Regions from separate parts of the Homo sapiens genome. Here all the other regions are linked to region 3. Evidence: promoter capture Hi-C in 16 types of primary human blood cells and fetal thymus (Javierre and others, 2016). All regions are on one chromosome and are shown on one strand. Each heading gives the region's core, a stretch centred on a gene start or on the middle of the fragment in contact. The rest is flanking DNA. Distances are from core to core; before and after follow the strand shown. Region 1 overlaps ZNF436 (zinc finger protein 436). Region 2 overlaps HNRNPR (heterogeneous nuclear ribonucleoprotein R). Region 3 holds the start of E2F2 (E2F transcription factor 2). Region 4 overlaps ELOA-AS1 (ELOA antisense RNA 1).

Region 1 (5,501 bases), core at 493-2,992, 170 kb before region 3:
ATTTGTCTGGTCATTATCTTCCACAATTGACAAACACATACAAACAAGTGCTTAGCTCTGTACAAAGACAGACCTTACAGGAGAGTGCACACTAAAGCACTAGTGTTTAAATTATTTTCCATAATGAAAAAAGGACATTTCTCACATTGGAGTTATGTCTGTACTTCTGTCACATGACTCACATCACCCAAGAACATGCTAAGTCTCTGTAAATTCAGTTTCTATTAGAAAAACCACAGGAATACACATTACTGTACATACACATGCCCTGATGCAAGCTAAGATAAACACTGGGATGTGGCCCTTATCAAATCTTAGAGTTAGCAGGATAGGAAGAGTTGATCTTAAAGATTAGAAGGGAAAGAACACAGAAACGACCTACATTCCTTGGGAAGGGACTCTGTGGTTCCTTCCCTGAAGGACTCAATTCCACTTGCTCCTTACACTTAACTGTCACTGATGGTCCTATCTTTTCTTGAAGATATTTTCTATACAATATTCCCTATAGTGATCCCCAAAGAAAATTCATAAATCTGATTAATGGCAGTAATAACTGTGGGCATCTTCTGCTAAAGTCACCATCATTGATGGGTCCTTGGTCCCCAAACCTGTGTCTCATTTTTCCTTTCCAACCGTATCTTCAGTTAGCCTTCACAAAGATGCAAGCTTTAAAGGAGCTAATTAGAAACAATGAGAAGGAGAAAAGTTACAATCATTGCCTTCATCGTGCAAAATCTTGCCCTCAGGAAGATGGAAAAGATACAAATGCATGAGCAACTCAAGGAAAAAGCCCTTTGGAAGGGAAGATGTGTGTGCCCAACTACTATGGTGTGTGAATAGGTGTGGCAATTTAGGCAGAGTCTCTAGTTGCCTTTTTCCAAAGCAGCCATTACCACCCTATTACAGTCCCACGTTTCACTTAGCATAGTTCCTTGGGCCAAGGATGGGAGAAAATAACATTGAAAGATTTACTCCATTTCCAGGCCTAAGCATTCACCAGCATTTGTCCCCTGGTCTTCAGATTTCCAGTTACTTGTGGGGCTGCTTTTAATGAAGTAACCCATTGAGTGAATAAAAATCACCATTTTGGAGGAGATAACATTCCCAAAGCTGAGGGTCAGAATTTCAAATGGCTTGTCATCTCTGATGGTTTAAATCGTGGCCCACAACTAGGAGAGTATGATAAAAGCAGCTCAGTCTTGAGGGCGTTCATTGATATCAAATAAAATTGTATCTTCAAATGAATCATTTCTCAGCCATCATAATTACAGCTTAGTCCGTATGAACTCTCTTATGTTTAATAAGAGCTGAGCTCCTGCTGAAACTCTTCTCACATTCGGTACATTCATAAGGTTTCTCTCCCGTGTGAACTCTTTGATGTGTGATGAGGTTGGAGCTCTGGGTGAAACCTTTCCCACACTGCACACACTCGTAGGGCTTCTCCCCTGTGTGGGTTCTCTGATGTTTAATTAGATCTGACCTTTCACCAAAGCTTCGCCAACACTCATTACACTCATAAGGCTTCTCTCCAGTGTGAATTTTCTGGTGTGTGATGAGATGAGAGCTCCGGCTGAAGCTTTTCCCACAAGCATTGCATTCATATGGCTTCTCTCCAGTGTGAGTTCTCTGGTGCTGAACCAAGTGTGAGATGCGGCTGAAATTTTCCCCACATTCGTTACAGTGGTATGGCTTCTCTCCCGTGTGGGCTCTGCGATGACGCACAAGGTCGGAGTTCTGACTGAAATTCTTCCCACACTCATCACACTTGTAGGGCCTCTCCCCTGTGTGGACTCGATAGTGTTTGATGAGATCAGATCTCTCACTGAAGCCTCGGCCACATTCGTTACATTCATAAGGTTTCTCACCCGTGTGGGTCCTCTGGTGCTGAGCTAGGTGAGAGCTCCGGCTGAAGCTTTTCCCACACTCCTCACACTCATAGGGTTTCTCACCACTGTGGGTCCTTTGGTGTTGGATTAGGTGAGAGAGACGGCAGAAACTTTTTCCACACTCATTACATTTGTGAGGCTTCTCTCCAGTGTGGATTGTCTGATGCTGAATCAGGTGAGAACTTCTTCCAAAACTTTTCCCACACTCGTTACAGTCATAAGGCCTCTCCCCAGTATGTGTTCTTTGATGCTGAATAAGGTGTGAGCTGCGACTGAAGCCTTTTCCACATTCATAACATTTATAGGGTCTGTCTCCAGTGTGGGTCTTCTGATGTCGATTAAGGTCTGAGATCTGACTGAAGGCCTTTCCACAATGAGAACATATATGATAGCGGATGCCTGTGTGGACTTCTTTGTGGACAAGTAGATCAGTGACTGGTTGGAGAGGATAGCTTACCCACTCTTCTGCTGTTAAATCTCCCCATTGTCTTTCTGACCTATCTCCGCTTTCAAAGCCCTCTTCACTTTCAGGATTTTCCTCAGCATTCTCAGCAGGTCTTTCAGATGTAGTCCCAAATTGTACATCTTCACTAATCTCTTGCTTGGGATTTACCTCGTTCTCACTCCTGATCTCAAAATCTGTAATAAAAAGTAAACAATAAGACTAGTAAGTACAAAAATTACCTATTGTGTGCCAGGCACTATACTAAATTTTTTTTTTTTTTAGACAGAGTCTCACTGTGTTGCCTTGGCTGGAGTGCAGTGGTGTGATCTTGGCTCACTGCAACCTCTGCCTCCTGGGTTCAAGCAATTCTCCTGTCTCAGCCTCCTGAGTAGCTGGGACTACAGGTGCACGCCACCATGCCCGGCTAATTTTTTTATTTTTAGTAGACACAGGGTTTCACTATATTGGTCAGGCTGGTATTGAACTTCTGAGCCACTGTGGCCAGCCTAAATTATTTATATTCTTCGTCACATATATTCTTTATCACAGCTATTCTGAGAGTCAGGAATTGTGATTATTTCTACTTCATTAATGAGAAATCCAAGACCCAGACAAGTGAATTGACTTGCTCAAGGCCATAGTAAATGGTAGAGCCAGTATTCAAACTCAGGTCTGTCAAAATTCACATTCTGTATCGCTGTAATTAATGATTCATTAAGAAAACTATACAGGCCAGGTGCCGTGGCTCACGCATGTAATCCTAACACTTTAGGAGGCCAAGTCAGGAGGAACACTTAAGGCCAGGAGTTCAAGACCAGCCTGGGCAATATAGGGAGAACCCATCTCTACAAAAAAATTTAAAAAATTAGGTGGATGTGGTGGCATGCAACTGTAGTCCCAGCTACTCAGGAGGCTGAGGTAAGAGGATCACTTGAGCCCAGGAGTTCAAGGCTGCAATAAGCTGTGATTGTGCCACCGCACACCAATATGGGTGACAGAACGAGACCCTGTCTCTTAAAAAAAAAACTATATATATTCGTGTTTTGAAAGAACACTGGAAGCAGAAAATATGAGACTCTAAATTAGAATATCTAAAAGGCAAGATTCTAGGTATTTTGTGAGTATGTATTTTTTAACTTGCCAAGCCTTCATCATTAGTAGCATCATAAAATATTTACTAAGAAGCCACTATGTTTTTGTTTGTTTGTTTGTTTTGTTTTGTTTTTTGAGATGGAATTTCACTCTTGTTGCCCAGGCCGGAGTGCAATGGCGCAATCTCCGCTCACTGTAACCTCTGCCTCCTGGGTTCAAGCGATTCTCCTGCCTCATCTTTCCGAGTAGCTGGGATTACAGGTGCCCGCCACCACATCCAGCTATTTTCTTGTATTTTTAGTAGAGACAGGTTTTACCATGTTGGCCAGGCGGGTCTTGAACTCCTGATCTCAGGTGATCTGCCCGCCTCAGCCTCCCAAACTGCTAGGATTACAGGCGTGAGCCACCGTGCCTGGCCAGAACCAACTATGTTAATATGGAGAAAAATGAATCTTTACCTATGTCATAGTTGACAGAAAAGTGACTGACAAATGTCACTTCCTACTTTTCAGTGACCTTTTAATGAAAATAGGAGTGGGAAAGTTGAAGAAGGCAAAAAAGATGTCTGGCTGAGAACATTCTTGGCATTGTCTAAGTATATTTCACATGCAGTCTTCAAATGAAAATCAAAATACACAACCACTGTCTACAAGGAGTTTTATACCAGACACTGCATTCTCCAAATTGGGTTTCTTAGTACACTCTTCAGAAAGAAAGTATGTATTTTGGGAGAAAAGGGTTCATGGATAAACTGGGTTGGTAAATGGTACATACAATATCATTTCCTTCAAAATTCACAATGCCTAATAACACATTAAAGGTTCTAAGGAATCCTGAGGTAAAAAGGCCTTATAAGGCCAGATGCAGTAGCTCAGGCCTCTAATCCCAGCACTTTGGGAGGCTGATGCAGGAGGATCACTTGAGCCTAGGAGTTTGAGACCAGCCTGTGCAACATAGGGAGGTCTCACTTCTATTAAAAATAAAAAGAGGCAGGCCGGGCGCGGTGGCTCACGTCTATAATCCCAGCACTTTGGGAGGCCGAGGTGGGCAGATCACGAGGTCAGGAGATCGAGACCATCCTGGCTAACACGGTGAAACCCCATCTCTAAAAAAAAAAAACGCAAAAACTAGCCGAGTGTGGTGGCGGGCACCTGTAGTCCCAGCTACTCAGGAGGCTAAGGCAGGAGAATGGCGTGAACCTGGGAGGCAGAGCTTGCAGTGAGCTGAGATCGCGCCACTGCACTCCAGCCTGGGCAACAGAGCAAGACTCCATCTCACAAAAAAATAAATAAATAATAAAAAAATAAAAAGAAGCTGAGCATGGTGCCTGACACCTGTATTCCTAGCACTTTGGGAGGCCGAGGTGGGCGGATCACTTGAGGTCAGGAGTTCAAGACCAGCCTGACCAACATGGTGAAACCCCGTCTCCACTAAAAATACAAAAATTAGCTGAGCGTGGTGGCATGCACCTGTAATCACAGCTAGTCGGGAGGCTGAGGCAGGAGAATTGCTTGAACTCAGGAGGCAGAGGTTGCAGTGAGCCAAGATTGGGCCACTGCACTCCAGTCTGGGCAACAGACTGAGACTCTGTTTCAAAAAAATTAATTAATTAATTAATTAATTTAAAATTTTTTAAAAAATAAAAAGAATTAGCCGGGCAAGGTGGTACGCATCTGTGATCCCAGCTACTCAGGAAGCTGAGATGGGAGGATGACCTGGGCCTGGGAAGTCAAGGCTGCAATGAGTTGTGATCGTGCCACTGCACTCCAGCCTGGGCAACAGAACAAGATCCTGTCTCAAAAAAAAAAAAAAAAAAGCCTTGTAATCATTTTTAAACCCATTCCCATTCCCAAACTTATTTGGGCAAGAAACCAGTTTTTTGGCGCTTTCATCCTTCTAACAAGTGCTTTTGGGGCTAAACTGTAGAATTGTAAATTCACATTTTTTAAAGATTGTCATTTTTTGCTTTTGTTGGATTCAGTGGAATATTTGGGTTACAGACTGCAATAGATCTGGATAGATAACTATTTATGGTTACTTTTATAAAGAAAGGATTCAAGAAACTAGGGACATCAGAG
Region 2 (6,289 bases), core at 1,429-3,928, 200 kb before region 3:
ACTAAGTCCCTTCTGAGTGATAGGTGAGGCAAGGGAGAGGACAAGCACAGTTCTAAATTATTGATATTAAAAAAAAAAAAACTTGGCCAGGCGCGGTGGCTCACGCCTGTAATCCCAGCACTTTGGGAAGTCAAGGCAGGTGGATCACCTGAGGTCATGAGTTCAAGACCAGCCTGACCAACATGGTGAAATCCTCTTTAGTAAATACAAAAAATTAGCCAGGTGTGGTGGTGCATGCCAGTAATCCCAGTTACTTGGGAGGCTGAGGCAGGAGAATCGCTTGAACTTAGGAGGTGGAGGTTGCAGTGAGCCGAGATTGCACCATTGCACTCCAGCCTAGGCAACAAGAGCAAAAATTCCATCTCAAAAAAAAAAAAACAAAACCAAACCAAAAAAAAAACAAAACAAAAACAAAAAAACTTGGTTGGGCACTGTGGCTCATGCCTGTAATCCCAGCACTTTGGGAAGCCAAGGCCAGCAGTTCAAGACCAGCCTGGGCAACACAGTGAGACCTGGTCTCTACAGAAACAAAAACAATCCCCAAAAAGCAAAAACCAAAAAAAGCAGCCGGGTGTGGAGGCTAACGCCTGTAATCCCAGCACTTTGGGAGACCAAGGTGGGTGGATAACTTGAGGTCAGGAGTTCGAGACCAGCCTGACCAACATGGTGAAACCCCGTCTCCACTAAAATACAAAATTAGCCAGGTGTGGTGGCACGCACCTGTAATCCCAGCTACTCAGGAGGCTGAGGCAGGAGAATCACTTGAACCCAGGAGGCCGAGGTTGCAGTTTGCTGAGACCGTGTCACTGCACTCCAGCCTGGACAACAAGAGCGAAACTCCATCTCAGGGGAGGGGAAAAAAAAAGACAGAATAAAGCAATTGCGTCTTCCAAATAACTTTACTCCAAGTATCTAAAATGGTGTGCTGCTAGTAGCATGGTTTTAGCAACCTGTTCCAAAAACTCTATATTATATTCCTATATAAAGTGTTCGGGTATCTACCAGTCACAAGATTATCCATCCTCATGATGGCAGCAAAATACAAATGGATATCTAAAAACTAACAACAGCTACACTTTGAAAGGGATCAAGAATTTTCCCCCGTCTGTACAGTATCTGCATAGTAGATAAAACACTTTCCAAACTGGAAAGATCTTGGTAAACTGCTAAAGAACACTTACCTCCGTTCCAATTCCAGGTTGCACGCCAGAGTACACACTGTCTGGTGGAGGACCACCATACTTCCTCTGTCCTGTGGTTACATCCAGAGTATAACCAGTTCTCTCAAGCAAGGCCTAGAGATAATTATACATCTCTTTATACTTGAGTACTAAATCTCACACACAAGCATCAGTGTATTAATCTTTTCCAAAAAGGACTCCAACTTCCTAGGAGATATATTTTTATGGTTAGGTAAAAAAAAAAGTCAAAATTCGCACTGGTTCCCCATACATGTTTCTACTGGTGAGTCTTTTCAAATAAAATGTTCTCTATCCTTAAAAAAATTAGCACAAGTCTTACCTCCTTCATGCAGCTTCTCTCATTTACTATTACTCACATCCATTTCTCCCTACTGTCTTTTCTTCTTTTTTTTTGAGATGGAGTCTTGCTCTGTTGCCCAGGCTGGAGTGCAGTGGCATCGTCTCGGCTCACTGCAACCTCTGCCTCCCGGGTCTAAGAGATTCTCTTGTCTCAGCCTCCCAAGTAGCTGGGATTACAGGCATGTGCCACCACGCCCAGCTAATTTTTGTATTTTTAGTAGAGATGGGGTTTCACCATGTTGGCCAGGCTGGTCAGGAACTCCTGGCCTCATGAGATCCGCCTGTCTTGGCCTCCCAAAGTGCTAGGAGTACAGGTGTGAGCCACTGTGCCCAGCCCCCACTGTCTTTCTAGTGTACTTTTTTTTTTTTTTTTTTTTGAGACGGAGTCTCGCTGTGTCACCCAGGCTGGAGTGCAGTAGCGCGATCTCGGCTCACTGCAAGCTCCGCCTCCCAGGTTCACGCCCTTTTCCTGCCTCAGCCTCCCGAGCAGCTGGGACTACAGGCACCCGCCACAACGCCCGGCTAATTTTTTGTATTTTTAGTAAAGACAGGGTTTCACCGTGTTAGCCAGGATGGTCTCAATCTCCTGATCTCGTGATCCACCCGACTTGGCCTCCCAAAGTGCTGGGATTACAGGAATGAGCCACCATACCCAGCCTCTAGTGTACTTAAAGTTCCATCATTTAAGCTTGATTTTGTTTGATCCTTCTGGTTTGTACTCCTGCCATATCATAAGCTCCACAAGAATCAGGTAATCAGACAAGAATCATACAGTACAGACTAAAAATATTTGGCAATTACCAAATAAGTATAGTCAGGTTCCGAAAAATAAGTAAAATCTTGTGTTTCCTGATTACCAACCTTCCTTACATTCTATTAGGTATTAAGAGCAATCATAGAAAAGAAGATAATCTCCTTGCTCTCAGGAATTTATGTTATAATTGAGGCAACATCTATATAAAGAGCTTAGAGAAGAAAAGATACAATGGTAAACAAAGAAACACAATCTACCTAGAAAAGAGAAATTTACACTTCAGTTTTTTTGGTTTTTTTTTTTTGAGACGGAGTCTCGCTCTGTCGCTCAGGCTGGAGTGCAGTGGCGCGATCTTGGCTCACTGCAAGCTCCGCCTCCCGGGTTCACGCCATTCTCCTGCCTCAGCCTCCCAAGTAGCTGGGACTACAGGCGCCTGCCACCACACCCGGCTAATTTTTTGTATTTTTAGTAGACAGGTGGCCTCACCGTTGTTAGCCAGGATGGTCTCGATCTCCTGACCTCGTGATCCACCCGCCTCAGCCTCCCAAAGTGCTGGGATTACAGGCGTGAGCCACAGAGCCCAGCCAGGTTTTTAAAATTACACAATGTCAGAACAATAAGAGACTTTAGATATCATCAAGTTCAGTGAACACTAGGATTTCACAGGGATGCATGCCTTCGGCCTTCCATTCTTCTACCTTTGACTGAAACAGAGCCATAAATGTAATATAAAACAGGGGTCCCCACACCCCTGGGCCACAGACCCGTACTGGTCCATGGCCTGTTAGGAACCGGGCTGCATAGCAGGAGGTAAATAGCGGGCAAGTGAGAACAAAGCTTCATCTGTATTTACAGCCGCTCCTCATCCTCCCTATCATTGGCATTACTGCCTGAGCTGTGAGCTCCACCTCCTGTCAGATCAGCAGCCGCATTAGGTTCTCACAGGAGGGTGAATCCTATTGTGAAGTGTGCATACAAGGGATCTAGGTTGCATGCTCCTTATGAGAATCTAATGCTTGAAGATCTGTCACCATCTACCAGTATGCCCAGATGGCACCATCTAGTTGCAGGAAAACAAGCTCAGGGATCCCACTGATTCTACATTATGGTGAGTTGTATAATTATTTCATTACATATTACAATGTAATAATAATAGAAATAACTTCAACATACAATAACTATTTCTAATTAAAAAGTCTATCACAGCCGGGCGCGGTGGCTCACGCCTGTAATCCCAGCACTTTGGGAGGCTGAGGCGGGCGGATCACGAGGTCAGGAGATCGAGACCATCCCGGCTAAAATGGTGAAACCCCGTCTCTACTAAAAATACAAAAAATTAGCCGGGCGTAGTGGCGGGCGCCTGTAGTCCCAGCTACTCGGGAGGCTGAGGGAGGAGAATGGCGTGAACCCGGGAGGCGGAGCTTGCAGTGAGCCGAGATCCCGCCACTGCACTCCAGCCTGGGCGACAGAGCGAGACTCCGTCTCAAAAAAAAAAAAAAAAGTCTATCACAGGCCGGATATGGTGGCTCACACCTGTAATCCCAGCACTTTGGGGAGGGTGAGGTAGGCAGATCCCCCAAGGTCAGGAGTTTGAGACCAGCCTGGCTAACACAGTGAAACCCCGACTCTACCAAAAAACAAAAAAAATTAGCAGCCAGGCACGGTGGCTCACGCCTGTAATCCCAGCACTTTGGGAGGCCGAGGCGGGCGGATCATGAGGTCAGGAGATTGAGACCATCCTGGCTAACATAGTGAAACCCTGTCTCTACTAAAAATACAAGAAAAAAAAAATTAGCCGGGCATGGTAGCAGGCACCTGTGGTCCCAGCTGCTCAGGAGGCTGAGGCAGGAGAATGGCGTGAACCCAGGAGGCAGACCTTGCAATGAGCTGAGATCGCGCCACTGCACTCCAGCCTGGGCGACAGAGGGAGACTCCGTCTCAAAAAAAAAAAAAAAAAAAAAAAAAAAAATTAGCTGGATGTGGTGGCGCACGCCTGTAGTCCCAGCTACTCAGGAGGCTGAGGCAGGAGAATCGCTTGAACCCAGGAGACAGAGGTTGAAGTGAGCTGAGATGAGCTGAGATGGCGCTACTGCACTCCAGCACTCCAGCCTGGGCCACAGAGTGAGACTCTGTCTCAAAAAAAAAAAAAAAAAAGAAAAGTATGTCACTACAGCAAGACACGAGTATCCATTTAACTAAGGAATTAGGTTCACTGGTCTTTCATTAAAAGCTGTATATTTACCTTTTCAAAGCTGTTTATCTAAGTAATAAAATGGTAATAATAATAATGGTTCATGGTTATATAGTTCTTGCTACATTCCAGGCATTATTCTAAGTGCTTTATATATGTTAATTCATTTACTCCTTACAATAACTCTGTAAGGTAGTCACTATTACTATCCCCATTTTATAAATAAAGAAACTGAGGTAACTGAATATTCAAAAGGAGGAAAGCAGTTATAACAACTTTTTATCAAGTTATAACCTTTTTATCAAGAGAAAAGAAACAAAGTGGCTGGAAAATAACTGAACCAAGAGACATTACTGGATCAATCCAAGAAACTACCAGCGAAGCATCAATAAATATACGTCATTCATGGCCACAAAAGAGGGAATGAGGAAGAGTATGAATTAGGGCTTTTCATTAAACATGCAATTGAGTGTCGATCCCCAAAATTATCCTTCTTATGTAATTCCTCTAAATTATTTCATTTCTAAACACTAGTTTTGAAAAGTGAAACTTTCAGCTGGGCGTGGTGGCTCACGTCTGTAATCCCAGCACTTTGAAGGCCGAGGTGGGCGGATCACAAGGTCAGGAGATCGAGACCAATCTGGCCAACACAGTGAAACCCTATCTTTCCTAAAAATACAAATAATTAGCTGGGTGTGGTGGTGCATGGCTGTAATCCCAGCTACTTGGGAGGCTGAGGCAGGAGAATGGCATGAACTTGGGAGGTGGAGCTTGCAGTGATCCAAGACTGCGCCGCTACTCCAGCCTGGGCGACAGAGCAAGACTCCGTCTCAAAAAAAAAAAAAGTGAAACTTTCTAGGAAACATGGAAAGAGGCATTTGACCTCATCATTAAATGCAATTTCATTACAACTACCCAAGTCAAGTTTTACCTTGATCTTCGCTTCATCAGGTCCCTTTGTGGACTCTTGCACCTTGCTCCCCTGTTTCTCTCTCTGCCTGTAGGTCTTCATAACTCCACATAAAAATGCACTTTTGTTCTAGAACAGACAAGTAATTCAATAAAAAGAATCACCAAAAATATCTGAAGGGTCAGATACATAATTAAATTTAAATTTCAGAAAACCAGGATTTTAACAAAAGATTTACTGATTCATTCAACAAGTATTTGCCGAGTGGTTACTATGTGCCAGAGATTGGAGCAGACAGCAGTAAGGCAGTATAGACCTCAGGGAGCTTACCTTCTACCCTGGGAAAACACAGTCTTCCACTTGTTGATATGTGACTGTATCTAGACTGTCTTTGCCAGATGTCGGAAACTATTCCTCCCACCTACATTTTCCTCCAAGATAATAAAACAGGATCAAATAACCCCCAAATGTTAAAAAGCTGAGTAACATGTAAAAACCTATAGTAACAACCATCAAAACTTGGCTTTAATTTTAAGTTTTTAAAATAACTTACTGCACAAGGGGGTGGGAGAAAACTTTTGCTTTATACTTGGGCTTCTGAAACTCTGCCACAAGCAGTTTTTTTCCTTTAAACTAATTTTTTAAAAGAAGAGGTAGTCACAAACAAAAAATACCACTTCTCCATAGGAAAAAAAGTAATAGTAAAATAATTTCAGATTACTAATTGTTCAAAGACATTTCTGAGTAACGACCTTACCTGAACATGTGATAAGTCACTTTCCTTGAACTGCTGTAGTACAGACAGAGCTCCTTCTTCATTAAATTCCCTGAGAGCATCAATTGCTCTTTCATCAAGATCGACATAAGCTACCAATCCTAAAAATTAAATTGAA
Region 3 (5,465 bases), core at 1,051-3,550:
TTAGAGTAGCTAGCTCATGCCTGTAATCCCAGCACTTTGGGAGGCTGAGGCAAGAGGATTGCTTGAGCCCAGGAGTTTGAGACCAGCCTGGGGAACATAGGGAGACCCCTGTCTCTACAAAAAATAAAAAATAAAAGACAGAAGAGCTGACTGCCTTGTGAGTCCCATCACTCTACCCCATCCCCATCTCTGACCTTAGGTCACATCCCCTCTCTGAGCCTCAGTTTCCCCCTGTAACATGGAGCTATTAATGCCATCTATTTCACGAACTACAAAGATGTTTTAGGCTATAAAACACTGAACACAAGATACCCAATCCCAGTTATCCTCGGTTGCTTAACCTGTAAAATGGGGATAATACCATTCCTGCCCACTGCCCTCCTAGTTAGAAATCATGTGCAGGAAGGGTCTCCAGGAAGGTTAACGTTTTGAACATGGGCAAAGCCTGAGTCCACTGGCAGGGAGTGGTGGCTCTGCCTGCATCCAGAGCTGGCTGGGCATCCGTGCTTGCTGACTAGCACAGGTCTGACCAGATGCCTCTGGGGCAGTGGGGGGTGGTCTTATCCCTGTACCCGAACTTATTCACCAAACTCACAACTAAGCAAACCTACAACACCCCCTTCCTCTCCCTGGAGCCTGCTTCCAAAACCCAGGACCTGGAGCTGAATGTGGCTGAGAAGAGCTAGCCCCACAGCCACCCTGTGCACACACGCATTGTGAAGGAGAGAACACTGAAGCCCAGACTGGGTCCAAGACTTGTCCAAGGACACACAGAGAATTAGTGGCAGAGTCACACCAGAAACCAGGCTCCTCAACCACCACCACCTCCACTCCCCCAGGCTTTTCCCACTCCACCCCCCACCCTAAAGTTGTTTTGATTCACACGGGCTCCAGGAATTCCACTCCCACAAAACACACCCTGAGCCCAGGTCAGCAGGCAGCCTGGTGCCACTACACTTTGGGCCCTCTCTGGCAACGAGCCTGGGAGCTTGAGGAGAGAGCAGCCAATCTGAACAGAACCCAAGGGGGCTGCCCACATTTGTATCTGCTACATGGCTGTCTGGGAGGGAAGACTGGGCCTGGGGGAGGACCTAGGGCAGATACTTGGGGCTATCTCAGGAGCTGGCTGGACAATTTGGAGTCTGTCCATGGCAGATTGGATGTGAGAGACCCACTAGACCTATCCCTCTGTCTTACCAAAGTCCCACAGTGTCCCCAGGCCATACTCTTTGCCTGGACAATAGCAGGCACCCAGTACTGGTTTCTGGCCAAACAATGAAGTAATGAATGAATGGCGGCAACGCTGGCTGCATGGACTTCCCCAAGGTCACACAGTGCACTGGGAGTAGTGAGTTGGGTCTCCCTCCAGACTCGCAATCCAGTGCTCATTCCACTCCACTAGAATGGATGAGATTATTTCATCCAAAGTCTGAAAATGAAGGGGTCTTCTACTCAGATATTGGGGGCACTGGGTCCTGGAAACTGAAAGCTCATCTTCCCTCTTCCCAAAACTCTACCTGCTCCACTCAAACTGGATCTCAGGCACCCCTCCCTCCTTTCCCACACCTGGAAAAGCATAGGGGGAAGCGGTGGGGGCCCCCAGCATTACCGGCAGCCGGCCTGCCGGCAGGCATCGCACAACTTGGCCCTCGGGTCCGTGGGGAGTGGCGTCGAGGCAGGTGCCTGGCGCCGCTGCGGGAGGCGCCGTCTGCGGGTACAGCGGTGTGTAGTAGGTAGCAGTAGCTGGGCAGAGCTGGGGGCTGCTGAGGCCGGATGGCCACAGCTCTGTGGGGCTCATCGCGGGCACCACCTTCGGGGTCTGCCCAGCGGCCGAAGCCAAGGCCCGGGGCCCTTGCAGCATAGCGAGTAAGGCGCCCCCTACCCAAAAGGGCTTGGCGCGCCCGCGGACACCTGCGGGTTCCGGTGCTGCCGCCTTTCACACGGCCCGCGGCATGGCGCGGAGGCCGGGGGAAGCCGCCAATGGACGCCTGCGGGGCAAGGCCGGACCCTCCCCTCCTGGCCCGCGGCCGAGCAGAGAGCAGCGCTTAGAGATCGCCGCTTGGAGATCGCCCGGCGGCTGCGGTGGTGGCACTGCCAGGGGCTGTCTCGTCCCGAGGGCACCGCGACCCGGGACGCCCCGCGCTCCCCAAGGCCTCGGCACCTGGGGTCCGGCCGGCTCTGGGGAGGGGTCCCCGGCGTGCCCTCAAGCTCGGCGGAGACGCGATGCGCTGGGATGGGGAGGGGGGTCTCGACTGCACCGACTTCCTTGCGGCTCGCTCTCTAGTCCTTGAGTCTTTCTCTGCCTCTTTTTTTTCTTCTTTTTTTTTTTTTTTTAGCGCCAAACGTCGTGCCGCGAAATTCGGATCTCCCGCGGAAAATGCCGCGCTCCGGTTGGCTGCTGCGACAGTACAGGCTCCACCCCCCCCCCCCCCCCCGGAAAGAACGCGTCCTCGAGGCGGCGATTGCAACACTAGCTTCGCTGCTTAAAGGGGCAGCCACACCTGCTGTTGGTGCCGCCAGCCGCCGGCCGCGCTAGTTAGCAGCCGGCGAGACGGAGACAGAGGGTGGTTCCGGGATTCACAGTGCAGAGGCGGCCAGAGCAGTGCACAGCGCCCCGAGAAATGGGCCCGGATTCCCTGGGATTGAAGGGAAACATTTTGGCGCGGGGTCCCAGCCTGAGCCCAGACCCAGCAGTGTATTCCCCAGGCCACAGGCCCTTTTGTTAGTTTGCATTGTTGCTTAGCTAGCACATGTGCATTCATATCCCCTTTCCTGCTAAAATGAAGGCCAGGAACCTGTTCCCTTTAATGGCAGAGGGGTGAGGGACGGAGGCAAACTAGTCTACTTCTTTGTAGGGAAAACTAACATCTATTCAGCGCCTACAGGATGCCAGGCACCATGCTAGATCCTTACAAGCGTTGTTTTAGTTAATTTATTCCAACAATCCTGGGAAGAGGAATGATGATCCCCATGATAAAGACTGACAGTCTGAAAGGCTGGGTAACTTGCCCAAGGTCATACAGAGAGATTCCCTGATTTGAGAGCTGGCAACAGAATCTGGGACAGGTCCCAGCTCTGGAGCCCTTGTTTTTCCAGTTAAGGGGTTCTTCTACTCTCCCAAGCTGCCTGGGGGCACAGCAGGGTCAGAGTCCCACTGCAGAGCTTTGTCTTGTTCACAGTTGTATTATTAGGACCCAATACTCAGTAAATGTTTGAACATCTCTAGGTTTCTTTTAAACAATCCTTTTGTCACAAGAGCCTCTCTGCCTCATTCAAAAACCTTCATTGCTGATAATACATTCCTCATCACTCCGGTTTAGAGAGGCTCAGAGAAGCAAACTTGGGTAGTGAGTGGTAAAAAGTTGCTAGAAGCTGCTGCTAGATTTCAGGTCTGATTTCTTGCCTGGTGCTGTGTGATTTTTATGCAAGTCTGAGCCTTGGCATTCAAAGCCCTCCAGAGACAGTCCACAGCTTAATTCCTCATTAGATGGTTGAGGCCAAGGTGGCAATAACCCATGATGATTAAGAGCCCAGGCTTTGTAGCCAACAGCCCCGAATTCAAACCCAGGCCCAGACACTTTATTATTCATTGTGTGACCAAGGCAAATTTTGTAAATTCTCTGATCCTTGATCCTTGATTTTCTCCTCCTAATAGCACTTACCTCATATGATCATGAGGAAATCTCATGAGATAATGCATATAAAGCTTTCATCACAGAACCTGGATCATAAGGAGCCTCAAGAATTGGCAGCTGTTGTTATATCTCTGACTTTTTTTTTTTAGACAGAGTCTCACTCTGTCACCAGGTTGGAGTGCAGCGGTGCAATTCTCCTGCCTCAGGTTCAAGTGAGTCTCCTGCCTCAGCCTCCCGAGTAGCTGGGATTACAGGCGCCAGCCACCATGCCTGGCTAATTTTTGTATTTTCAGTAGAGGCAGGGTTTCACCATGTTGGCCACGCTGGTCTCGGACTCCTGACCTCAGGCAATCCGCCCTACTTGGCCTCCCAAAGTGCTGGGATTACAGGTGTGAGTCACCGCTCCCGGTCACATCTCTGACCTTATCTCCAGTGCATAAGACCCTTTTACTCTAGTCTACGTATCTCATTGGTCCTTTTTGGTCCTTTGAGGGCCAGCTTAAATCTCACCTCCTCCAAGAAGCCTCCCCTGCCTGCTTCCTCTCAGCCAGAATGGCTCTTACCCTCTTGGGACCCTTAGTGTGTTCTACCTCAACAAAACAAGGCTTCGTTTTCATACCTTGTTTATCAGTTAGGTTCTATGCTCCTTCAAGAATCTAGGTCAGATCTCTCTAGAATGCCCCTTAGCATCTAGGGCCTGGCTTGGAGTGCAGAAGGCAGGTAATAAATACTGATTATGATTCACTCATCTGCCTGGCTGCAAAGAATAGGAGAAGTTAATGAGATCTGAAGTCAGAAAGTCAGGAGGCCCAGATTAAGTAAGTCCCGCTCTCTACTTCCTAGTTAAGTGACACTGGACAGCCGCTGCTTCACTTCTCTTAACCACAATTTCCTCAACCATCAAATGTGGATAATGCTATCACTCAGTCAATTTCACATTACTTCAGAGACACTACTTAAATGACAGTGGTGGCGATGATCACTGATTTTTATTGAGAACCTACTATACACTGGGCTCTAAGCACCTTGAGCCCCTCCTCTGATCCTCACAACACTGCTCTGAGACGGACACTATTATTATCCCCATTTTACAGATGAGGGAACCTGGAAGGAATTGTGGCAGAGCAGGTTTGGGGAAGCAGCAGGGCCCCAGGGCCAGGGAGGGAAATGGGGGTGGCAGGGTGGAGCTGGGAGAAAAGAAGGGAGCCAGTGAGGGGCTGAGAGCCAGCTCTCTGTGGTTGAGTTTCGGGCAGCTGGGGCTGGCTTTAGAGTTTCACTGCCTGGGAACTGACTAATTCTTGCAATAGGTGTGGGGCACAGATCTGAAATCTGCCTCCCTGAGCTTGAATTCCTGCCCCATTCATTCCTAGCATTGTGATCATGGTCAGGTTGCTGGACCATTCTGAGTCTCAATTTCCTCATCTTTGAAATGGAGGCGGCACAAGTGACCTCTCCATTTACTGTGAGGCCTTAGTAAGGTGTTGGTTATAAAGTCCTTAGAGAAATGTCAGGTGCATGGTAGGTACTTAATATATTTTGGCTAAGGTTTATGTGAAATGGACCCGAAGAGGCCCTCACATGGAACCAGACTAAATACTTGCAGTTTCAGGCCGGGCACATTGGTTCATGCCTGTGAACCCAGCACTTTGGGAGGCCAAGGTGGACAGATCTGTTGAGCCCAGGAGTTTGAGACCAGCCTGGGCAACATGGCAAAACTCTGTCTCTCCAAAATACAGAAAAATTAGCTGGGCGTGGTGGCACACGCCTGTAATCCCAGCTGCTCGGGAGGCTGAGGTGGGAGGATCACCTGAGCCCAGGGAGGTCAAGGCT
Region 4 (6,106 bases), core at 2,399-4,898, 240 kb after region 3:
AATAATAAAACACCTGCAATTAGGAAAATTAAAAAATAACATTAGTAAAGCCCTCGGGACCCATATGGTTGTTAGCTGCTACAGTATTACTATGCCCTCAGTTCGCCACAAAGAAGCATTCAAAAGTAACAGAAAATAATTAACAGTATCATTTCACCCACCCAATTGAGATAGGAGAGAAGAAAATGGATACAAATTCAGCAATCCTTGAGCTAAGAAAATGTTTACAGCCAGGGGTGGTCGCTCAGGCCTCTAGTCCCAGCAGTTAGGGAGGCTGAGGCCAGCAGATCACTTGAGTCCAGGATTTCGAGACCAGCCTAGGCAATGTGATGAAACTCCATCTCTACAAAAAATACAAAAATTACCTGGGCATGGTGGCATGCACCTGTAGTCCCAGCTACTCAGGAGGCTGAAGTGGGAGGACTGGTTGAGCCCAGGAGGCAGAAGTTGCAGTGAGCCAAGACTGTGCCACTGCACTCCAGCCTGGGTGGCAGAGTGAGACCCTATCTCCAAAAAAAAAAAAAAGTTTATAAATGGAGCAATGGGAAAAAACTTGGATGCTTTTCTTACCTGCCCCAGGGTAGTCCTAGAAATCAGTGAGAATTCCCATTTGTCCTCAGAGATTCCTGCAACATAGGAGTGCAAGAGAGGAGACAGTAAGCAGAGGCACAAGGCATTACTCCCAAATCACAGCTAAGCCACCCTGCAACCCTGGCCGGCTCCTTACAAACCCAGCTCCCTTAGCAACTGCAGTTTCCCATCCAACCAGACGAGGGCGCCGAGCTGACAGTCTTGCTGCTGGCAATAGTGATAGCCGCTGTGAAAGCACAGTAGATGCTCGTCCACTTGTCGAGGAGAATGCTGAATTCTTACCACTTTTGCACCACTGTAAAGTCACAAAGTCATAAGTCGAACCACCATAAACTGGGGATTATCCGCAGTCCCCCCTTATCTGTGGGCGATATGTTCCAAGACCCTCAGGGGATGACTGAAATAGTACTGAACGCTATATATACAGTACTATGCTTTTTTCTATACATACATACCTATGATTACATTTAATTTATAAATTAGGCACGATGAGATTAAACAACTAATAATAAAATGGAACAATTATAGCAATATGATGTAATACAGTTATCAGGCACTGTGCTCATAACTTTTGCAGTTTCATGTGTGGCAGCAAAACTAGCAGGTATTTCTTTTTCCTTCTTCATAATTTCACAGATAGAAGATTCGTTCTTACTACAGATCTTAGCGACCTCAGCACACTTTATTTTTTCTTTCCTTATTATAACTTTTACCTTTTCATTTAAAGAAAGAACTTTATGGCTTCTCTTTGCCATATCCAAATTGCTAGCATGACTACTCTTGCACTTTGGGGCCATTATTAAGTCAAATAAGGGTGACTTGAACACAAGCATTGCAATATCACGGCAGTCGATCCGATAACGAACAGGGCACTTACTTAGTAAGTGACTAACGAACAGGGAGTGTATACAGCGTGGAGGCACTAGACAAAGGGACGATTCAGGTTCCCCAGGTGGACAGAGCGGGACAGCACAAGACTTCATCACGCTACTCAGGACAGCATGCAATTTAAAATTTACAGATGGTTTATTTCTGAAAATTTCCATTTAATATTTTTGGACAGTGGTTGACTGCATGTAACTGAAACCACAGAAAGCAAAACCGAGTCAGGGGCAGGGGAGGGGGGCGGCTACAGTAATAGCCTTTCCCTGTGGACCAGATGTTATACCAAACACTTTCATGTGTTATTTCACATTACTGTCATAGCACTCCACAACATAGGTACTGTTATGATTCCCATTTTATGTAAGACAAATCTGAGGCCTAGAAAAATAAATAAATAAAAAGAAAAAAGAAAAAAATCTGAGACCTAGAGAGGTTAAGCAATTTGCCTAGCAGGCCAAACCTAATATTTGCAGGACAGGAGCAAGAATACAGCTGAATGCATACTTAAAAAGTTATAAATGACCCTAATGAACTATTAAATAAAAGACAATCTATTCTGCTATGTCAATAAATAAACCTTCACAATGACCTGGAAGACCACATTCACATTTTTGGGCCTCTCAGAGTTCTGTACTAGAAGGTGGTGAGAGGCAGAGAACAGGACCCTAGCCCTGCCCCATTCTCTCCATATCTCTAAATCTGTGTGCCTGGAAGGGCCTTGTGTCCACGCATGCAGAGGTCCTAACCTGTGTGCTCACACTTTGTTCTAGGGGTTCTAAATTGAAAAGGTCCCTCAGGTATCCAGCACAATGAATGACAAAAGAGACCAAAGCACAACAAAAATCATCACATTCTAGAATACCAAGAGAAGATCTTAAAAGCTTCCAGAAAACGGGGTGGGGTGGGGGGAAAACCCATAAAAAGAATCAGGATTCAGAACAGCATTGTATTTATCAAAGCCAGAAGAAAACCAGAGCAATTTCTTCACAATTATGAAAGAATTCTATCCACAGCCAAACTACTAATTAAGTACAGTAGAATAAAGCCATTTTCAGTGCCACTTAACATGTATGGCAGCATGGTAGCCAGCCACTAAGGTGGCCTCTAATGATTTCTACCTCCTGGTATCTGCACTCTTATGAAGTTCCCGCACACACTGAATATGGCTGACCTGTGAAACCATGGGATGTTGCAAAATTGACAATATGGGACTTCTGTGGCTAGGTCATAAAAGACATTGGTGGTTTCTACCTTGCCCTTAGATCACTTGTTCTGCTGAAAACCAGCTGCTGTATCATGAGGACACTCAAACAGTACTATTGAGAGGTCCATGTGTTAAGGAACTGGGGCCTCCTGCCAAGAGCCTGCACAAACTTGCCAGCCGGGGCTTCTCCAGCCCTGGCCAAGCCTTCATATGATTTCAGGCTCATGAGAGACCCCAAGCCAGAACCACCCAGCTAGGACGCTCTCAAATTCCTAACTCACAGAAACTGTGAGATGATAAATGTTAATTGTTGTTTTGAGGAGAGAGGCCATTTCTCTTACTGTCTCTGAAGAGAAGGAAGAAGTAAAAGCTGAAAAACAACAGGAATGAAGTCAGTGGCAAGACCAACTGATGCCACTTACCAGGCCTGAGGTTAAAGATTAACGCCCCCACCCTAACCACATGTGTTACCTATAGATCACTTGCTCAATCTATCACAACCCTTTCACGTGGACCCCCTTAGAGTTATAAGCCCTTAAAAGGGCCAGGAACTTTTTCTTTGGAGAGCTTGGTTCTTGAGACACAACTCTGCCAACGCTCCTGGCCGAATAAAGTCTCTTCCTTCTTTAACCTGGTGTCTGACAGGTTTTATCTGCAGCTTGTCCTGCTACAGTTTTAAGCCATTAAGTTTGGGAATAATTTGTTACACAACAAAAGACAACTAATACAGACCTACTGGGAGGGGAGGAGCCACAGTATTTTGCAGTTCTTCCAATCAGGAGGTGAAGTCTACAGTCTAGCTCTCCACTCTAGAATTTGGATTTGGCTGATGGGTCATTATAGAAAGATTATAGATGTAAGGCTTAAAAAGTGCTTGTGCTGGCAGGGCGCAGTGGCTCATGCCTGTAATCCTAGCACTTTGGGAGGCCGAGGTGGGCAGATCACCTGAGGTCAGAAGTTTGAGACCAGCCTGCCCAACATGGTGAAACCCCATCTCTACTAAAAATACAAAAATTAGCCAGGCGTGGTGGCAGGCGCCTGTAATCCCAGCTACTCGGAAGGCTGAGGCAGGAGAATCGCTTGAACCCGGGAGGGGGAGGTTGCAGTGAGCGGAGATTGTGCCACTGCACTCCAGCTTAGGTGACAGAGCAAGACTCCATCTCAAAAAAAAAAAAAAAAAAAAAAGTGCTTGTGCAATTGAGTCTTGCCCTCTCTTGCTCCTGGGAACTCTGCAATTATCACCATGTAATTTAGCTAGGCTTGTCTGCTGGAGACACGTGGTCCCATCATCCCAGCTAACAGCCAGCATCAAGCAGACGAGAGTGAGACCATCCCAAACTTTCCAGCCCAAGCTGAACTGGCCCAGAAAAGCTAATCCACAGGATCATGCGAATTAATCAATGTTTGTTGTTTAAAGCTATCAAAGTTTTAGGGTAATCTGTTACACAGCATAAGCTAATTGATACAGCATATTTACTTTGTGTGCACCTCCCGCCTCAACCTCCCCACCCTAACCAGGAAACTACTGATGTGTTACAAGAACACTACAGGATGTGTTCAAAGCCTGGTTACCTCCTAACTTTACCTAGTCTCAGACAAGTTAGTTTGCCTCTTTCAGCCTCAGTTTTCCTCATCTTCAAATTGGAGATAACAGTAGGTAATAGCACCTAGCTCTCTTTTTTTTTTTTTTGAGATGGAGTCTCGCTCTGTCGCTCAGGCTGGAGTGCAGTGGCACAATCTCGGCTCACTGCAACCTCTGCCTCCTGGGTTCAAGCGATTCTCCTGCCTCAGCCTCCCGAGTAGCTGGGATTACAGGCACACGCTACGATGCCTGGCTAATTTTTCTATTTTTAGTAGAGACGGGGTTTCACCATGCTGGCCAGGCTGGTCTCAAACTCCTGACCTCAAGTGATCTACCCGCCTCGGCCTCCCAAAGTGTTACAGGTGTGAGCCACCACACCTGGCTGTACCTAGCTCTTAAAGTTCATGTGACAATTAATTGAGATGAACTACATAATGTGCTTAGCACACAGTGCTCAAATAAATCATTAATGAAGGCAACAGGAAAAAGCCAAAATGAGTAGATCTCCGGGGTAAGGCCTGAGTTGGTTCTTCAAAAGGACACTCTTACCAAAGAAAGGCTACCAAGTATATCAGTCAAGTAAACATTTACTGTTTGCCACATTCCAGGTCCCTTACCTGAAACTGTGACCTAAAAGCAGGAATAATTCACGGCACTGAGCTATTTTGAAACAGAACCAAGCTTGCTTATTGCACAAGTAACTAAAATAGGACATCAAAATATTTTTCTTGTTTTTATTTTTTTGAGACAGTCTTGCTCTGACACCCAGGTTGGAGTGCAGTGGTATGATTACAGCTCACTACAGCCTCACCCTCCCAGGCTCAGGAGATCCTTCCACTTCAGCCTCCCAAATAGCTGGGACCACAGGCATGAGCCACCATGCTGGGCTAATATTTTTAATTATTTTTGTAAAGATGGGGTCTCCCTATGTTGCCCAGGCTAGTCTCAAACTCCTGGGCTCAAGTGATCCTCCCACCTTGGCCTCCCAAAAGTGCTGAGATTACAGGCATGAGGCACTGCATGTGGCCCAGAAAATATTTCTGAATGGAACTTGAAAAAATGGATATTTTGGTCTATACTTCACCAGCCCCACTGAGCACTCCAGAGCCAGATGTGAAGGGAAGAGGGTAGCCAGGGTATCCCATAACTCTCTTTCTGTATCCTGTCTTTTCCCCACCAGGGAGTAGGAAAACATTCTATCCTGAAAACAAGATTATTTCACCTCTAAACAGTGACTTTTAATTATTTTGATCTCAACCCACAATATGAAAAACACATCATATTGTGTCTGAATACAAACTCAAAACTGAAACAAAAGTTTCATCAATTGAGACTTGAAATGTGTGATACATTCTGGGTTTTTTTTTTTTTGTATTCTATTTTTTTTTTAAATGTTGATCACAATTCTCTATAAACGGATTTTAAAACCTATTGACAGGCCACAACCAGCTGTTCGAAAAAAAGTACTTTGAAATATCACATGGGGGAGGAAACGCAGAGATCATCTAGTCCAATCCCTTCACTTCACAGGGGGTAAACTGAGTCTCAGAAGATCAAGTCACTTGCCCAAGGCCACGCAGCTAGTAAGTTGCTGTGGTTGGATTTGACCGTAATAACCATCGGCTACTGAATGCCCATCATGTGTCAGCCATTTGCTGAGTTTTTTCTTTTTTTTTCTTTTTGAGACAGAGTCTTGCTCTGTCGCCAGGCTGGAGTGCAGTGGCGCGATGTCGGCTCACTGCAACCTCTGCCTCCCGGGTTCAAGCGATTCTCCTGCTTCAGCCTCCCGAGTAGCTGGGACTACAGGCTCGCGCCACCACGCCTAGCTAATTTTTGTATTTTTA

The links. Contacts are between HindIII fragments. The CHiCAGO score rates a contact against its expected background, and 5 or more counts as called.
Region 1: a contact is called between a fragment that was not itself captured here and the fragment with the promoter of E2F2 in region 3, in 1 of 17 cell types (fetal thymus). The highest score is 5.0, in fetal thymus.
Region 2: a contact is called between a fragment that was not itself captured here and the fragment with the promoter of E2F2 in region 3, in 5 of 17 cell types (fetal thymus, naive B cells, erythroblasts and 2 more). The highest score is 6.0, in fetal thymus.
Region 4: a contact is called between a fragment that was not itself captured here and the fragment with the promoter of E2F2 in region 3, in 1 of 17 cell types (fetal thymus). The highest score is 6.6, in fetal thymus.

The regions. Positions count from the first base shown.
Region 1 is chr1:23,360,697-23,366,197 of GRCh38, forward strand. ZNF436 (zinc finger protein 436) reads right to left here. Exons shown (of 4, transcript NM_001077195.2): 4 at 1-2,525. The coding sequence ends at 1,273. Among named protein-coding and RNA genes, the nearest start is that of ZNF436-AS1, 5.5 kb to the right of the region's middle. The HindIII fragment of the contact is 336 bases long and covers 1,575-1,910 here.
Region 2 is chr1:23,332,337-23,338,625 of GRCh38, forward strand. HNRNPR (heterogeneous nuclear ribonucleoprotein R) reads right to left here. Exons shown (of 11, transcript NM_005826.5): 3 at 6,154-6,272; 4 at 5,418-5,525; 5 at 1,182-1,295. Among named protein-coding and RNA genes, the nearest start is that of HNRNPR, 8.8 kb to the right of the region's middle. The HindIII fragment of the contact is 903 bases long and covers 2,228-3,130 here.
Region 3 is chr1:23,528,933-23,534,397 of GRCh38, forward strand. E2F2 (E2F transcription factor 2) reads right to left here and starts at 2,301. Exons shown (of 7, transcript NM_004091.4): 1 at 1,610-2,301. The coding sequence starts at 1,861. RefSeq lists silencers at 1,707-1,855, 2,393-2,532. The HindIII fragment of the contact is 7,412 bases long and covers 1-3,704 here.
Region 4 is chr1:23,771,541-23,777,646 of GRCh38, forward strand. It overlaps ELOA-AS1 (ELOA antisense RNA 1), which reads right to left. Exons shown (of 4, transcript NR_038280.1): 2 at 728-886; 3 at 571-626. Among named protein-coding and RNA genes, the nearest start is that of ELOA-AS1, 3.7 kb to the right of the region's middle. RefSeq lists a silencer at 1,299-1,593 and an enhancer at 5,602-6,106. The HindIII fragment of the contact is 2,586 bases long and covers 2,356-4,941 here.